Linked DNA regions of Homo sapiens: region 1 is linked to region 2. Evidence: promoter capture Hi-C in human tissues and cell types (Jung and others, 2019). All regions are on one chromosome and are shown on one strand. The core of a region is centred on a gene start or on the middle of the fragment in contact, and the rest is flanking DNA. Distances in the headings are between cores, read along the strand shown. Region 1 has its middle 45 kb from the start of ISL1. Region 2 holds the start of ISL1 (ISL LIM homeobox 1).

Region 1 (4,625 bases), core at 1,768-4,267, 44 kb before region 2:
TGAATAAATAATTCAAATTAGTTAAGATCTTGTTATATAGTCTTCACTAAATTGTTACTTAGCCTTTCACAGACATTAAAAGCAAGTGAAGCAAAAGTTTCTTTCAGTGTGCTAAAGTTCCAACAATATGAAAGCTTTTCTAATATAGAAGTCCATTAATCATTATACAGTAGAGAATTTACTCTTCATTTTTCTTTAGTCATTTTCACCATTTGATGAAGAAAAGGTATCATTATTCTTAAAATCAGGATTTTTAATAATAAGCATGCATTGGAAAAATATATGGCAATAGAATTTCAAAGGTTATTACATCATTGAACTCAGAAACAATTTACTATCTTAACAAATGCATTATAGTTTCTTCTATAAAGTGTTAGTGAATGTTAAAAATAACACCTATTTTGGGAGAAGATGCAGGACATTGGCTGATTATACGTGACTAGTACAACTAGAAATTAGTACATTTCTAGAAGGCAATTTGACAATATAGATCAAAGGCTTTACAACTATACATATACTTTAATTCAGCAACTACACATCTGGAAAAGATTCCAAGAAAGTAGGAACAGCACTTTGCAGAAATTTATGTATAAAGATGTTCCAACAATAAGAAACAGGTCGAGTAAATCAATGGCTAATCAGTGTGTGGAATACTATGTAATTATTAAAAATGATGAAAATCTATACACATAAGTAGGGAGGAAACAATGCAAACAGTATTTAAAGCTGTTGCAACTGGGTGCCACTGTCACCCTGAAAAGGCAGAACAGAGTTCTGGGCACACCATGAGCCCAGTAAATGCTGCCTTAACTAGCAGTAACTCTAAACAGAAAGCCTTTGCTCAGTAATCCTACATCAAGGTTTGTCTCTGCAAGGATACCAAGGCAACTTCTTAGGAGGAGTTGTGCAAAGATCTGATTGATCTGAAGGATTTAGAGCATGAACAGAGCAAGAGCTTTGTACTTTCAGAAGACCACTTTTTTTTCCCCCATTATCATCATTGGAGATCAACACATGGAGATGCACAGAGCTTGGTATCAGGCCCCATTGAAAAGAACCATCAAGCCTTCATTCACCAGAAGAATGTACTTCAGCAGCATGTTGTGTTATTAGAAAATTCATTATCAGAAGTAGTAGTAATATTGCAAGTAAACTAAAGTAGCCTAAGACAGCAGAGCAGGGTGAAGCGTAATCAGTATTATAATACTTAAAAATTGTCAATCAAGATAAATTGCTATCCCTTTGATGAAAATGTTTCCCTTTCAGGCAGTTATTATCCAATTCTTGGTACTTTGTGAAGTGACACTGTTATCCATATATGCATGTAAATGTATATATATATAATTTAATTTTTCATGTACTTAATACCTTTGAAGAGTTAAACAAAAGATTAAAGTAGTGATTTGTGTGAGCTAAAGAGGACATTAAGAACGATGGTTCTGCAGTTTTATATGAACATGGATTTGATAGTGAGATGGCAGACAAAATAGATGCCTCAGAAGATGTTGCAAGCCCCAAAAAGCTTTATTTACAGAGAACTCAATTTTTTTAAAAGAGAAAAACTCACTTGGAAAGAGCATATGGTTATTTGGTGACTTACAGTCACCAGAGTTTCCCCTTAACTCCTTTCCCCTGACCTGTCCTTCTCTGTTAGACAGTTCAGATAAAGCCAACTTCATTTGATAAATATGTGTTCTGAGATATGCTAATTAATGCAATTTTTGTCAATATGGGTACATTTTTCTCATTGTAATTTCCGATTGATCTTCCTTTTGGCAGAGGTTCCTAAACTAGAATTTTATATTTCTTAGTAACCACTCTGTCAAGGAGGTATAATTTAATACACTTTAGGAAAATGGAGAATCTTATTGTGATAAGAAGAAAATCCTTTATTTATCTGTGTTTTCAATATATCATAACAAATCTTCTAAAAACCTATTTGAGGTCGAGTGCGGTGGCTCACGCCTATAATCCCAGCATTTTGGGAGGCGGAGGTGGGCGGATCACCTGAGGTCAGGAGTTTGAGACCAGTCTGGCCACCATGGTGAAACAACGTCTCTGCTAAAAATAAAAATAAAAAAAAGTAGCTGAGCGTGGTGGCACACGCCTGTAATCCCAGCTACTCGGGAGGCTGAGACAGGAGAATTGCTTGAACCCAGGAGGCAGAGGTTGCAGTGAGCCGACATCGGGCCACTGCACTCCAGCCTGGGCAACAGAGCGAAACTCTGTCAAAAAAAAAAAAACCAACAACAACAAACAAACAACAACAAGAAAAAACAACAACAAAAAACTCCTATTTGAGTAGGGCACAGACCACAGAGGTACAGTTTGCTTTTTGATCTTGGGTGCCTTTTGCAAGCCGTGAGAGTAACTTTTATCTACATTACTACGTGAGTCACAAGGACAAATTCGACCATGAGTTCCTGGAGATTGAATTCCAACCAGACAAGAAACTGAGATGTGCCAACAACAGTAATTACAAGGATAATGTCATCATCAGAAAAGAGGCTTACATATATAAAAATATGATGGAGGAACTGAAGAGAATAATTAATGGCAGTGAAATTACCAAATAGTATGACGCTCTGTGGCCTCCGCCTCACCAGGAGGAGCTTGAAATCGTCATTGGACATGAACACGTTTCTTTTATAACATCTAAAATTGGTTCCCTTATTGATGTTAAGCAATCCAAGGATCCAGAAGGCTTAAGAATATTTTGTTATCTGGTTCATGACCAGGAAGTATCTGGTCTTCATTGTTACTGAATTACACTTCAAGATTAAGCCAATCTAGATTAAACATTGATGTGGACGCAAAGAAGGTGGATATAGCTGTTTTTAATCAACATTATCAGAAAATTTTTGTGTACATCAGAATAATATTTTTCATAAACTATAAATGATTGTGTCTAATAAATAGTGACAAAAATAACAAGTAAACTTAAAAACCTATTTGTAATCCTAATGGCCTCAAAGGTCATTTCTGAAGATACTGTAAAATACATGTTATTTCAAATAAATAAAATCTGTCTATTTAACTTTGATATATCACTAACAAGTATTGGAATATATTCTAAATTCCATGGCAAAAAGAATTCACAAAAAATTCAGGCTCCAACAATCATTAATATTCTCAATAGACTAATTACTGTGTGGTCCAAGTATATAGCACAGATGACTGAGGTCTTCTGCTGGAAGAATGCTATACCAGTACGGGCTAGTATACAATTCTTTTTGCTTTTTATTGATTTTATTTAAGGAATTTGTATATTTTCTTCCTTCCAAAGAGCAACCTTTATTCTTCATTGGAATCCTTGTAAATTAAAAGCAAAAAAAAAATATTTGTTTTATATCTGGAGAACAAATGGATGTTCCTCCTTCAGCCTCAGACAGAGTGATTGATAGCTTTGTTATCAAATTCTGAATGAAATAAATTTGTCTCACTTTGAGAGTAAATAGTGATAATCTCTGCCAACCAACTTGGATGTAACTCATTGCATTTCTATTGGCCAATGAATGTACCAGGAAATGGGCTTGAAAAAATGACATTTAAGTAGTACTTAAATAGTAATATAGACTATTTCGTTCATCTGGATAGTTTTCATTTCATTATTTACATGTACTGTTCTTCTATTATTTTTGCCATTCATTCTCTTATTAGAAGATTGGAAAGCTGAAATCTATTTGGTAGTGTTTATTCACAAATAGATATGTAGTAGGAGAATATATAGCATAGGGGTTAAATATGGCCCTAGAGTCTGGAAAGTCTGAATTAATATCTGTAGTAGACTATATTATTGTTCAGGGTGCTCCCTGCTACTCTCTGGGGAAAGATCCAACTACTCCACCCTATGATAGCATGATTAGCCTTGATCTCGCTAATGAAGTGTGAGCAAGTGACATTTTTCACTTCGGGGTAGAATGTTTAAGAGCCAGTGCACCATGGTTTATCAGGATGTCTTCTTATCTTTGTCATATACCTGAAAATATTTTAGATAAAACATTAATTCTGTGAGCTTGGGTTCCCTAGTGAAGAGATCATGAAGCAAAATGATAGCCAGTGTGCCATAAACATGGAATAGGGGTAAGGAATGAACCCCAGTGATTGTAAACCACTGAGAAGTGGGAGAGTGTTTGTTAACTGCTAAATAACCAAGTCTCAGTCCCCACTAGTTATGTAACCTTATGAGCAGGCTTACCACCCCTTTGGCTTAATTTCCTCATTTTCAAAATGGAGATAATCTAAACTAGATAATTTAGGTAAAACAGCACAGTGCCTACTATGTAATAAATACCTAGTAAATGATGGCTTGTATTATTGCTATTGTTAATACTGCCAGGAATTTCAGTAAATACTATAGATTATATGATTATCTCATGGAGTTTGAAGTTTGATAGGGGTCCTGTAAACCAATTCCTATAGCAATGAGATAAATGTCTCAAGACGATGAAGAGGTGCTTCCAAATCAGAAGCATTTAGCTTTAACAGGTTATCTGCAAAGTCTCCCTGAATGTATGACATTTGAGTTAAGAAGTAATGGGTAAGATTTTTCCAGGCAAACAAGAAGCATAAAGGCATTCTAGGTGGAAGGGCCAGCATTTACAACAAAAAAAAATGCATGGCCC
Region 2 (4,623 bases), core at 1,689-4,188:
ACACACACAGAGTTGAGAGAGAGTGAAGAGAAGGTAAAAATGATTAGTTCCTTCTACACATGTGTGTATCCAGAATTAGGCACATGCAAGCCTGTGTGCAATTGAGCAAAATACTATTTCCATAGCAGTAAAGATACTCCTGAAGTGGGCTCTCCTTCTCTAGAATCTTGCGTTTACACACCAATCTAGTAAACAATGAAAACGCTCATTTGTCAGAGGTTAGAAGGTGGACTCAAAAGTTTTTCCTCCCTCCGCCTACTCAATGTGAGATCTTCCATTTCATAGGGTGAAGACTTGACTTTGGCGGTGACCAAACAATTTAGAAAATCCCTCCCCCTTCCTGTACCCCGACTTCCCTTACTTCCTTTCACTCCCTCTCCGAAGTATTAACCTCCCCCAACCAGGTTAATTTTATCTACCAAGATTATACTCTCTGTGTCATGATTTTTAAAAAAGAAGAAAAAAATGCTGGATACTAAGTGAGCAGGAGCAAACTGTGACTGTATATTAAATCTTAACTAAACTTTAATAAAAGTTCTCAAGCTCCAGAAACCATTTGCCTAACAAAAGCTAATTAATTACTTGTTAATAGCCACCGGACATTTAAAAAGTGATATTTTGCTATTATTTAACATAATAATGATGCTGATGTCTCTTCTGTTTGTTAATAAAATGAATACAATTTTCTTTAGAGACTACTGGCTTTCTAAGGCAGAAAACAAAGTTTCTGATACATACACACAAGTCAGAGGAAACTTGAGATTAGCAAAACGTGTTGCAGAATAAATTGGAGGAAAAAAAAAACAAAAACTCTCCAAAACAACAAAACCAAACTCAGAAAGTTCCTATGTTGTTTCAGTCTTGTCAATTTGGACAATTCGCTCATTTTATCAGTTACCAGATTTTAATGTGAGAAAGGAAGCTGTTCAATTATCTAAATATACCAATTGTTCGTAGACAGATGATGGGCAATTTGATCTGCTCTAATTCATCAGCTCAGATAAGATAAGAAAGAAGAGACAGTTAGATGTCACCAAAGGGTTAATATTTAAAAAGATTAAGTTTCCGGTGTTTTTTCCAAGGAATATTTAGGTTGGTTTTAAATTTTTCTCAGAAGGAGGTCTTACCCCAAAAATAAAAGGAGCAATACCTGTACTCGCTCTTTCAAAGTACATCTCTAAACATGCTTCGGTCAAACTTTTATTTCACCTATTGCATTGATGCCACCAAAGAATTTGTAAGCTACTAATTTTAAAAAGGACTAAAACAAACAGAACACTGCACTATACAACAAAAATCAACCCTATTTTAAAGCTAAAAATCCAAACTTCTCCATCTTTTTAAAATTTTGTTTTGTAAGGGGGAGGGTGAAAGAGGAAAATAATTTGTGCATCATAAACTCCAAGAGTAATTAAACAAGCCTCAATACCCCGGAATTATGAATACCACTGTTAAGGGTTTTTGTTTTTCTCAACTAAAGAATGAAATGAACAGCATAGCTTGATTTTTTTAACACATGTACAGGGTAACTTTGGCTTGTATGACTACACTGAGGCAAACTTCACAAAAAGACAAAGCCACACCAAATAATACATAAAGAGTGGGGAGATTCAGGGAAATCCCACAAAATTAAGAAAGAAGTGTAAATGCCATACCTGATATAATCTCTTTTACAGTAGGTTTTCCCATCCCTAACAAAGCATGTACAGCTCTCGTCCAAATACTGATTACACTCCGCACATTTCAAACATGCCGCATGCCATTCCAAATCCGGAGAAACCCTCAGAATATACTGATCGTGAATCTGATTGCCGCAACCAACACATAGGGAAATCAGACGTTTTTCTGAAATGAAAATAAATACATGATTGACTAACCGTTTACTTCCTACAGAGATAAACACACTTTTAGTGTCGTTCTCTTATAGGGCGTACTCTGGGAGGTTTTTTTCTTTCTTTCTTTCTTTCTTTTTTTTTTTTTTTAGAGCATTGCACTTTGGGATGGTAATTGAAATGTGCCATCAAAACCTTGACTCATTTTTAAAAGGAGGTGGAATATATGTAAAATGCAGATTGGAATAGTCTACATTTGTACGCCTAGCACGCAATCAAACCCGCTCATTTTGTATTTCTCCCCCCCCCCTTCCTCTTTGCTATAATCATTGGGAAAGATTATGGATAAGTCAAGTCAAAGAAAAGGTTTTGACTAGAAGCGTTAAGTGAACGCAGGGATGTCTATATTTTCCGTGAAGCGCGCTCTTAAATAGCACACAGGACTGGATATTGTTAGCAAGAGCAGGCATAAATACAGTTGTCACTCGTTCTCTTTTGCAAGTCTAATGCTAATTCACATCTCTGGGCATTGACTGTGCAGGCAGACCTTTGCAACATAATAACCTTCTCGGAGAGCTCAGGATTCCCCAGGAGGAAATCACCGCTTAGCACCAGAAAGCTAGAGCTTTGGAGGGCACACAGGCGAATTCACACACAAGGTACAATCAGTTTCCCGAAGATAAGAACCGACAGTAAGCATGCAGGCGTGGCGGCAACAAGAAAAAGCCACCTTTTCTCTTTCTCCAGGCAATGACTCCAACTCCAAAGAGCCCTTGGCACCTCAGCCTGTGCCTGAGAGAGAACCCCGCACAAGAACAGCACACCGAGCCCCACAAGGTAAAATAGCCTCTTACTTTTTGGTGGATCTCCCATGTCTCCCATATCTGTAAGAGGGAGTAATGTCCACAGTGAAATGGTGGTTGTACAGTTGGTGAACAGCCCACAGAGAGGATGCTGGAGCTGTGGCTAAGTGGGAAATATTGGCCCCTGGGGTTGCCAATGCTGAAAGAGCCGCTGCTCGGCTGCGCCGCGCCCTCGCGGATCTAGGAGTCCAATTTAAGCCGGCGGAGTTGGCGGAGCGGAGGCGCTGCGGCGGCGGCAGACTCGGCGCGGCTCGGGCACCTCTCTTCCTTATCTCTTACTCAAACTTCTCTGCTCCAACTCAGCTCCATCGCCATTGGTCTGACGCAGCGCGCGGGGACGTCAGGCGAGCGCCGCGCCCATTGGCTGCAGGGCGCGCGGCGCAGCTGTTCTGATTATCATATTTCAGCCTCGCCGCCGCTGAGCGCCACTGACCGCTCGGCGAGCCAGCGGGAGAGGATTAGGGCTCCCGAGGCAACTTGCTCGGGGCTCAGGCCGTTCTCCCCCGAAGCTCGGGCTGCCGGGCTGTTCTGGCTCTGGCCTCCCTCTCCTCCTCTTCCTCTTCCTTCTGTCCCCTCCCGCGTTCCTTCCCGGCCGCGCCGCCTGCGCCCTCGCCTCCTGTGGCGCTGCTCCTCCGCCCTGCGCTCCTGGGGTCCCCGCAGTCCGGCTGGCCGCGTTGCGCGCGGGGCTCACTTTCTGCCGCCGGTGGCGAGTGGCTGGTGGGTAGGTCTACCTGTTGACGAGGTCCCTCCCGGGCTCTAGGAAAAGGGGGGAACTTGGAGCAGGCCGTTCAGCTTGGTTTGGTCCCCACGCCGTGGTGCACATCCCCGGGGCCTGGCCTGCCTTGGCTGCTCCGGAGGGCTAGTTCCTCCAGAACTGGCTGCGCTCGGCGCGCTAGGGGAAGAAGAATCGGGAATGGGATGATTAAACCCAGAGGAACTGTTTCCTGACTGCTACACCATTACTCCGTCTCCCCCAACCTCAGATATCTAAAAACGTTGGGTGGGAGGAAAGGGGCGCTTCTTGCTGTTGGGACAATCAGGTTGGAACGCACCGGTAAACCGAAGTTGACTCCGCGGACTGACTTTTTGTCTTTCAGACCCGCGAGGTCTGCTTCTCAGTTTAACTCTAGAATTGAAGCTCACTAACCCGAAGCCAAAGAGCGAAATGATCTTTCAGTAGTCTAAAGTTTGTAAGATTTTTATATACTGTTCAATTCTTCTCACTGCTGGTCTCCTGCCCTTTGTTTTTAAGCAAACTTGTGCAACTAGCTGTGGTATTTTGGTAATTATAAGGACAAGTCTCCATGACTTTGTGGAGATTTTTTAAAAATGCATTAGTCTAAGGGCGCGAGTAGGGAGGGATTTATTACAGAACAGTGAAAGACCTATTTCACGTCCCCAGGCGTTAATATATAATTTTCTCTCGAGAAACTACTTGGAGAGAGAAGACTGTTAGGTGCAACTCGCCGGTAACCTTCTTCAATCATTCTTACATGTTCCCATCATCTGTTACGGTCTCCCAAAGACAGTCACAGGAAGGCCACGAAGAACCCCCGCGCTTCCCCCAAAGCTTCTAAAAAGCCATTTCTTATCTAATGGGGCTGCCAGTTTTATCTAAAAAGTCCTACAGACACAAACCATAGAAGGCTTAATTTCGGTGTCTTGTTGCTGTGAGAAGACCCGGTGTGTTAGGAAACTCCTTTCTTTATATCTTTCGCAAAATCTAACCCTTGATAAGAGCTGTAAATCCTGGCCGGCCGCATTGGCTGGGCTTGAACGGGTAATGCCTCTCCAAAGCGGAAAGGGAATCAAAGATGCGTAAGTTTCCTCCTGACCTAGCTGAGGCTTTCTTCCCCAGGAACTAGTTTTGATTTGTTTTTTCTCAAGGAGGATTTCAAATTGGATCTGTCTTCCCTTCCATTTTTATT

What was found. Contacts are between HindIII fragments. The study calls those that stand out against the background at their distance.
Region 1: a contact is called between a fragment that was not itself captured here and the fragment with the promoter of ISL1 in region 2, in 1 of the 25 tissues and cell types used here (adrenal gland).

What each region holds. Positions count from the first base shown.
Region 1 is chr5:51,426,164-51,430,788 of GRCh38, reverse strand. It overlaps the pseudogene LOC105379196. Among named protein-coding and RNA genes, the nearest start is that of ISL1, 45 kb to the right of the region's middle. The HindIII fragment of the contact is 4,377 bases long and covers 829-4,625 here.
Region 2 is chr5:51,381,763-51,386,385 of GRCh38, reverse strand. It overlaps ISL1 (ISL LIM homeobox 1), which reads right to left and starts at 2,938. Exons shown (of 6, transcript NM_002202.3): 1 at 2,687-2,938; 2 at 1,656-1,845. The coding sequence starts at 2,714. ISL1-DT (ISL1 divergent transcript) reads left to right here and starts at 3,054. Exons shown (of 2, transcript NR_046243.1): 1 at 3,054-3,412. RefSeq lists enhancers at 701-884, 701-1,229. The HindIII fragment of the contact is 8,696 bases long and covers 1-4,623 here.